Regions from separate parts of the Homo sapiens genome. Here region 2 is linked to region 1. Evidence: promoter capture Hi-C in 16 types of primary human blood cells and fetal thymus (Javierre and others, 2016). All regions are on one chromosome and are shown on one strand. Each heading gives the region's core, a stretch centred on a gene start or on the middle of the fragment in contact. The rest is flanking DNA. Distances are from core to core; before and after follow the strand shown. Region 1 holds the start of MMADHC (metabolism of cobalamin associated D). Region 2 overlaps NEB (nebulin).

Evidence for each region. Contacts are between HindIII fragments. The CHiCAGO score rates a contact against its expected background, and 5 or more counts as called.
Region 2: a contact is called between a fragment that was not itself captured here and the fragment with the promoter of MMADHC in region 1, in 2 of 17 cell types (total CD4 T cells and non-activated CD4 T cells). The highest score is 5.6, in total CD4 T cells.

Annotation. Positions count from the first base shown.
Region 1 is chr2:149,585,588-149,589,145 of GRCh38, reverse strand. It overlaps MMADHC (metabolism of cobalamin associated D), which reads left to right and starts at 1,371. Exons shown (of 8, transcript NM_015702.3): 1 at 1,371-1,482; 2 at 1,997-2,057. The coding sequence starts at 2,049. It overlaps MMADHC-DT (MMADHC divergent transcript), which reads right to left and starts at 1,788. Exons shown (of 3, transcript NR_110240.1): 1 at 1,296-1,788. RefSeq lists enhancers at 1,325-1,644, 961-2,160. The HindIII fragment of the contact is 5,011 bases long and covers 1-1,652 here.
Region 2 is chr2:151,638,920-151,642,500 of GRCh38, reverse strand. It overlaps NEB (nebulin), which reads left to right. Exons shown (of 182, transcript NM_001164508.2): 61 at 1,835-2,146; 62 at 2,441-2,644; 63 at 3,117-3,221. Among named protein-coding and RNA genes, the nearest start is that of NEB, 94 kb to the left of the region's middle. The HindIII fragment of the contact is 4,109 bases long and covers 1-3,581 here.

The DNA.
Region 1 (3,558 bases), core at 122-2,621:
CATTTTCCATTAAAAGTACCCTTGGCTTTTTGGGGAAGCAGCTGATTCTAGGATTGGGGCAGGGAATATACAAGATGAGCCTGGAGCAACTTATAGAAATTAAGAAAATGCTCAAGAAAAAAAATCAATAAACATAAAACGAGGAGGGTTTGTCAAAAAGACACAAATGCCAACTAAAGGAAATCTCAATAGCCAAAGCTGGAACCAATATGAACAACAAAATAAAGTAGTATTGGATTATAACCCAAAATGTAAAATAAATATCCATGAGTCCATACTGACATAAATGATTGAATACATAAATAAATGCAGTACAGACAAATCTCCCATGCAGAAGAATTCCAAATAATTCATGAAGATATTCTGTCCTCATAAAGGTGGAGTATAACAATTTCCCATTCCTATAGTTTGGGCTGCACAGAGAGATGTCCTTCCAAATAGTATAGTATGGAGAGGAAAAGAAAAACAGTAACTTCACAGTGGAGAAACCTGACAAACCCTACATAGGGAGGTGGAAGGGCTTACTAGATGAAACAAAGGGGATCTTTGTAGAACTATAAAACTTTTCTGTATGACACTGTAATAATGGTGATAAAGGTTAGCATCAACAGTAATAAGTCATGTTGATAGTATATACCCTTGATGTGATGTGATGAGAAGATCACTTTACCTTACCTCTTAACTCAAGAAAAACCCATAACCTCAGTTAATGCATGAGAAAAATACAGGCAAAACCCAATTGAAGGACATTTGACCAAATGACCAATAAGTCGCTTCAAAACTATTAAGGTTATCAAAAACAAGGAAAGTTTGAGAAACGGTCACGGTCCAGAGGAGCCTGGAAGACATGGTGATGTACTCCGGACAGGATCCTGGAATGGAAAAGAATACCAGGTCGAAAACTAAGGACATCTGGAATAAAATATGGGCTTATGGGCTTTAATCAATTTTTAAAAAAGTATTAGATACATGAAAATGATACACGATTTACAAATCAATCGCCTAATATTTATCGAGCATATTGAGAGCCTGGCACTGTGGTAGGGCTGGGGACACAGAAAGAGGTAAGTGCCCTATGCTCAAAAACAGCGATTCATGAAAAATAAACAACTATGACAAAAAGAACAGAAGACTGTATCTCCTGGAGGCAGTAAGGAAGGCTTAAGTTGGGAGGACTATCAAACGCATCAAGGAGTTACTGAAGATTAACTGACCCGCCTAACGCAGGTCGGAAGCCCTCCTATCCATCCACCCAAATCACCCCTGCCCCACCTTTTCTCCTCCCTTGCGTTTACCCAATGGCAGGTCGGCTCCACGTAGGCCTACTTTGCGCGTGCGCATCATCGTTTCGACGCGCTCGGAAGCAACTTCCTTTGCCTGCTCACCGCCAGCGTAGGTGCTACCACCGCTGCCGTCGCCGCCGCCATTTTGATGGCAGGAAGAGTCCGGTTCTGGGACAGCTGGAGACAGTGGTGGTGACTGGTACGGATGGTTTCCGCCCATGTTAGCCCCTCCAAATTTGCCCGTGTTAGGGTTACAGCCCTCGGTATTGCCCGTATTTTCACTGGGTCCCTGTCGTTGTCCCCAGCCATCCTGTCCGTCTGTCTTTAGTCTCTTTTCTGCTTCCTCATCTTTCCGATCAGCCTGAAGCTTTGCTTGGAGCTGTTGTTACGCAGCCCCAACTTCTGTTAAAGCAGCCGCTTCGATCCTCTGGACTGAATTTTGGCCACCCAGCCCCCATTCCCCTCCCGGATCTGGTCCGAGTTGTTTTTCCGCGGCTGTAAACCGGAAGGGCTCTGAGCTGCACTGCCGGCTCCGGGCTGGGGGATCTGTGCCTGGCATGGGGGCGAGTTCTGGCCTCCTTAGGGTACGGGGAGAGCTTGGACTTTGGTCCTGACGTGGTGGACGACACACCTTCGAAGAGTGGACGTTACCTCAGTTGTCTGTTGTTAGAGTTTAATCGATCACTCGTCTGTTTTGTTGTGTTCTTTCCCAGAAATAACTTTACCAAAGGAAAGCTATTTTGCGAACTATCTTCTCCAGCGGAGATGGCCAATGTGAGTAAATTATCTCTTAAGAATCAGCATAGTAAACTCGTTTGGGAATGTTAGGAATGAAAGAACGGGTTTAATTATGATGGCATTGGGTGGTATAGTGTTAGATATAATGTATCAAAAATGTCAAGGGAAGCAAGTGGTGTGAAATTATGTTATGCTTTGAAGATGGTAGCATTCTTTGCACTGCAAATACACTTATTTATACAATTTCATTTGTACAGATGTGGAAATTCAAGCACCCTTTCGGTATTTTTTAAATACAGCGTTTCAGTAAATATTAGAATCTATGTTTAGGCCCTTTTTTAGCTTTTGGGTTAGCTAAACTGAAGGGTTTTTTTAATCTTTTTTTCTTTTTTTTAAAACAGTTTCCATATTGGAAGTGACCTTCTAAATCCTACAAAATAAGAATAGGAGATACTCTCACACACCAGAGATATTTATTGACTGTAACTTTGCAGTGATTAGACACATCCTATCTATAGAATTCATATGTAGCGGTCATAAGACATATATAAAAACAGCTACAATTAAAGTATAAAGTAATAATTTTTTTTAGAACCTACACGAAGGTGCAATGCAGATTCAAGTCTTTGTGGAGAGGAGTTTGGGATCACTTCATGAGGGAAACATTTAACTTGAGGTTTGAAAGATAGGTGGGATTTGTATAGTCTAAAATATGAGCGGGAAGGACAGGAAGGTATATTCAAAGAACTCCCCAACCCGCCTACCCCTTTGAAAAACTGAAAAGTGACTGCTGCCTGCCAACCTGAATGTAAGCTGCATGAAAGAGATAAGTGGGAGATAAGGTTGAATTGTGAGGTTGGTACCAAGTAAATGAGAGCCTTGAATGCCGAACTCAGTAATTTAGACTTCATTCTTTAAATTGTGATTATTCACTTAGAGCTGTGTGCTAGGAAGATTTATATGGCAGCATTTAGCCAGGATGCTATTTCTGTAATTGAACATGGTATATTAAGTCTAAAGTGTGACTATAGAGACAAGTCATAAGAATAGATTACTAGTCTTGGCCAAGTTCTATGGTGAATTTTTGCCTGCCCATAACCTGCACAGAAAGAGAATGCTGTAAAAGAAGTATGTGGTACTTTCAAAGGAGAGAAATTAATTGAAGTAGAATAGAATGCTATTATTTGACCTGGTTTTATTTTGGTTTAAATGAATAAATTATAATAGTTCAGTAGGGAAGATCCTTTTATAAGTCTTTTGTTAGAAAGAAGTTCATATTAAAATAAATTTAAGTTTCAGTATCCAAATGTACGATAACAATTTTTGTGTTAATTTATATGGATTGTAAATTGTGGATGGATGTTACTAATGAAATATGCAGATAGTGTTTCATAACAAGGGGCAAGAATGTTCATGTTTCAGAGTCTAGACAGGTACATTAAGAAGCCTTCATGGGGACTGTGACAAAGCCTTTCTGAACAAAGGGGAGCAACCTTTCCTTAGCTACAGTGATTTGTTGCTAACTAATGCCATTTGG
Region 2 (3,581 bases), core at 639-3,138, 2.1 Mb before region 1:
GCACAAGTAAGCCATGAGGTTAAAGCTGTTGCTAACAGTTTATTGTTTCGATGAATGGTTTAAAATAATGGTAATAGAGTTATCAACAGAAAGGCCAAATTCAAGTTATTGTTGAGTCCATAGCAACATGCATTTCAAAACATGTCCGTTTCCTGCTGAACAAAAGTATTAGATACTTGACTATAGTTCAGATAATTTTTTTGGCTTTTCCAATGATGTATCTCTCATATACAATTGAGCTTATTGTAGGGTTCCTTCAAAACCCAACCTATGCTGTATGAACCAATGAATCTACAAGGGCTGAATTATAGGACACATTACTCAAAGTTCAACGATTCCTGTGGAACATGTTTGTTTCTATATCAGGTGGTGGGTTACAAATATTTGCTTTCTTTAAAAGATGGATTTGCTCACTGTCACAAGGACAGAAAATCAAACACTGCATGTTCTCACTCATAGGTGGGAATTGAACAATGAGAACACATGGACACAGGGTGGGGAACATCACACACTGGGGCCTGTCATAGGATGGGGGGAGGGAGGAGGGATAGCATTAGGAGATATACCTAACGTAAATGATCAGTTAATGGGTGCAGCACACCAACATGGCACATATATACATATGTAACAAACCTGCACGTTGTGCACATGTACCCTAGAACTTAAAGTATAATAAATAAAGGATTTGCTCACATTTCTAAAAATTTTTATCTTTCCATTTCTTTTGTCTATGAATAAAAAAAACTCTAGATTTTTTTCTTTATTTCCAAAATATGGGAAGTAATCATAATTTAAGAATAAATGACAATCACAGAAGGGTTAAATACCATATAATGAAATACCTACCTGTCATTAAAAATCATGTGTATAGGTCAGGCACCATGGCTCACACCTGTAATCCCAGTGCTTTGGGAGGTCAAGGCGGGAGGATCACTTAAGGGCAGGAGTTTGAGACCAGCCTGGTCAACATAGCAAGGCACTATCTCTACAAAAAACTTAAAAATTAGCCAGGTGTGATGGCGCATGCCTGTAGTGCTAGCTACTCAGAAGCTGAGGTGGGAGGATCACTTCAGCCCAAGAGTTGGAGGTTGCAGTGAGACATGATTGTACCACTGCACTCCAACCTGGGCAACAGAGAGAGATGCTTTCTAAAATACAAAACAAAACAAAACAAAAAAAACAGTCATGTGTGCAAAGACTATTTAATGACACATAGAAATGCTTATATAATAACTGAAAAGAGCAGGCACAAACCCATATACAATATGACTTCTAATTATATTCTCACACACGAATCATAACAAATTATTTTAGTGGCAGAATTACATCTTAATTTTTCTTTTTTTTCTGTGTGTATAAATATACAGACATTCTTTGCAGGCAAAGATAATTTTTATTGAATCTGCGGTACTTATCTAGAATTGTGCCTGACACATAGTAGATACTCAATGAAATTTTGGATCATTGAGCATATAAAACCCATGCAGGAGAATTTCATTTTTATTGTCATTGTCATTGCAGCATAATCTCCTGAAATTTATACATCTAAAAATTAAATATTTTAAAAACAAATTCTAAATTCTAACAGAATGACTTTCACATTAAAGAATGTATTAAAGTAATGCCTATCTATATGGTATATATTTTATATAAGATATATATTTCATATGTGATGATATGTGCTATATTTATTTTCTAAATTGTTTCTACATCTATCATATAATTTACATATTCAGGGAAAATTTTTTTTTTAATAAATAGAGCAAGTTAGGCTTAGTGATTGCTTTTTACTAAAAGTTAAAACAGATGACTATCTGTCTTTTTCTTCTTTTAGTTCAAGTACAAAGAAGGCTATCGTAAGCAGCTCGGCCACCACATTGGTGCCCGAGCTATACGTGATGACCCCAAGATGATGTGGTCCATGCACGTGGCCAAGATCCAGAGTGACAGGGAGTACAAGAAGGACTTTGAGAAGTGGAAGACCAAGTTCAGCAGCCCAGTGGACATGCTGGGGGTGGTGCTGGCCAAGAAGTGCCAGACCTTAGTCAGCGATGTGGACTACAAGAACTACCTGCACCAGTGGACATGCCTGCCCGACCAGAGCGACGTCATCCATGCTCGGCAGGCCTATGACCTCCAGAGCGATGTGAGTACTGAGAGTCATAATAACGTGCAGAGGTGGGAAATTATTTAACACCCCTTGGAGAAAATGGCAATATATGGCACAAGCTCACCAGCCCCTGGAGGAGGCAAATAGCATTGCCTTTATCGACAGGAATTTTAATCCTTTAACCCTTCAGACCAAAGAGGAATATTGTGTGATACCTGGCCCGTCCACCAAACTAAATTTTGAGAGTGCTTTTACTTGATCTCTTATCCTTCAGATGAAAATGCATTGCTGATACAGAGATAAATATTTATTGGCTATTTGTGTCAACAGAATATGTACAAGTCTGATCTCCAGTGGATGAGAGGCATTGGCTGGGTGTCCATTGGCTCTTTGGATGTGGAAAAATGCAAAAGGGCAACTGAAATTTTGAGTGATAAAATCTATCGCCAGCCTCCAGACAGATTCAAATTTACCAGTGTGACTGACTCTCTGGAACAAGTGTTGGCCAAAAATAATGCCATCACTATGAACAAGGTGAGACTTCAAAATTAAGAATCGAAGTGGGGCTCCTAAAGCTGAATCAACAAAAAAGAAACATTAATGAGGAAAGAAAGAACATTGAGTAATAAAAGGCATCTATCTATCTGTCTATGTATCTATTGGCTTCTCATCTATCTATTAATAACTGATATATATCATGTATATTTTGATATTTAGTCATTGTTTCATGATTTTGATAAAGTAGCATATTTTATCAAAAAATAGTCTGCATAAAATATGCTTATTCTCATTTTCCTTTTGTTAACATACATTTCAGATTATTAGAAGGCATTTATAAATACACATTCCTTTATGAACTTATTACCCGAAGATGTGCATAAAACACATAATGTGTATAAAACACATAACCTTTTCTTTTTTTTTATAAAGTTTTTGTGGCCCTAAAATTCCTATTAACTATACACAGAACTTTTTTCCTGATGAATTTGTGTATTTTTTTTGATAGCGTTTATACACAGAAGCCTGGGACAAAGACAAGACTCAGATCCACATAATGCCAGACACACCAGAAATTATGTTGGCAAGAATGAACAAAATCAACTACAGTGAGGTGAGAGCAGATTCTTTGACATTTGCACACTGCTGCTTATTTCAGTTGATCTACTCTATGATGACATGATACCAAATGACAGCTTTAGAAAGAATCTTTTTCATGTTTCATGTGAATAACAACTCTTGCATTTCTCAATCACCATCATAAATGTCAAACTTTATGCAATATGAATTATCATTTAGGAAATACAAATGACATGAACTAATTATTTAAGCTGTAACCATGAGATTATGTAGACCATTTTCTTTTATTATTTTTTTGAAGTTAGGATATTAGCAATTGACCTATACATGTATCTCCCCTTTATGCTAAAGCATAACTGTAGTAAATATATTTTCCATATATTGTTCCTAAGTG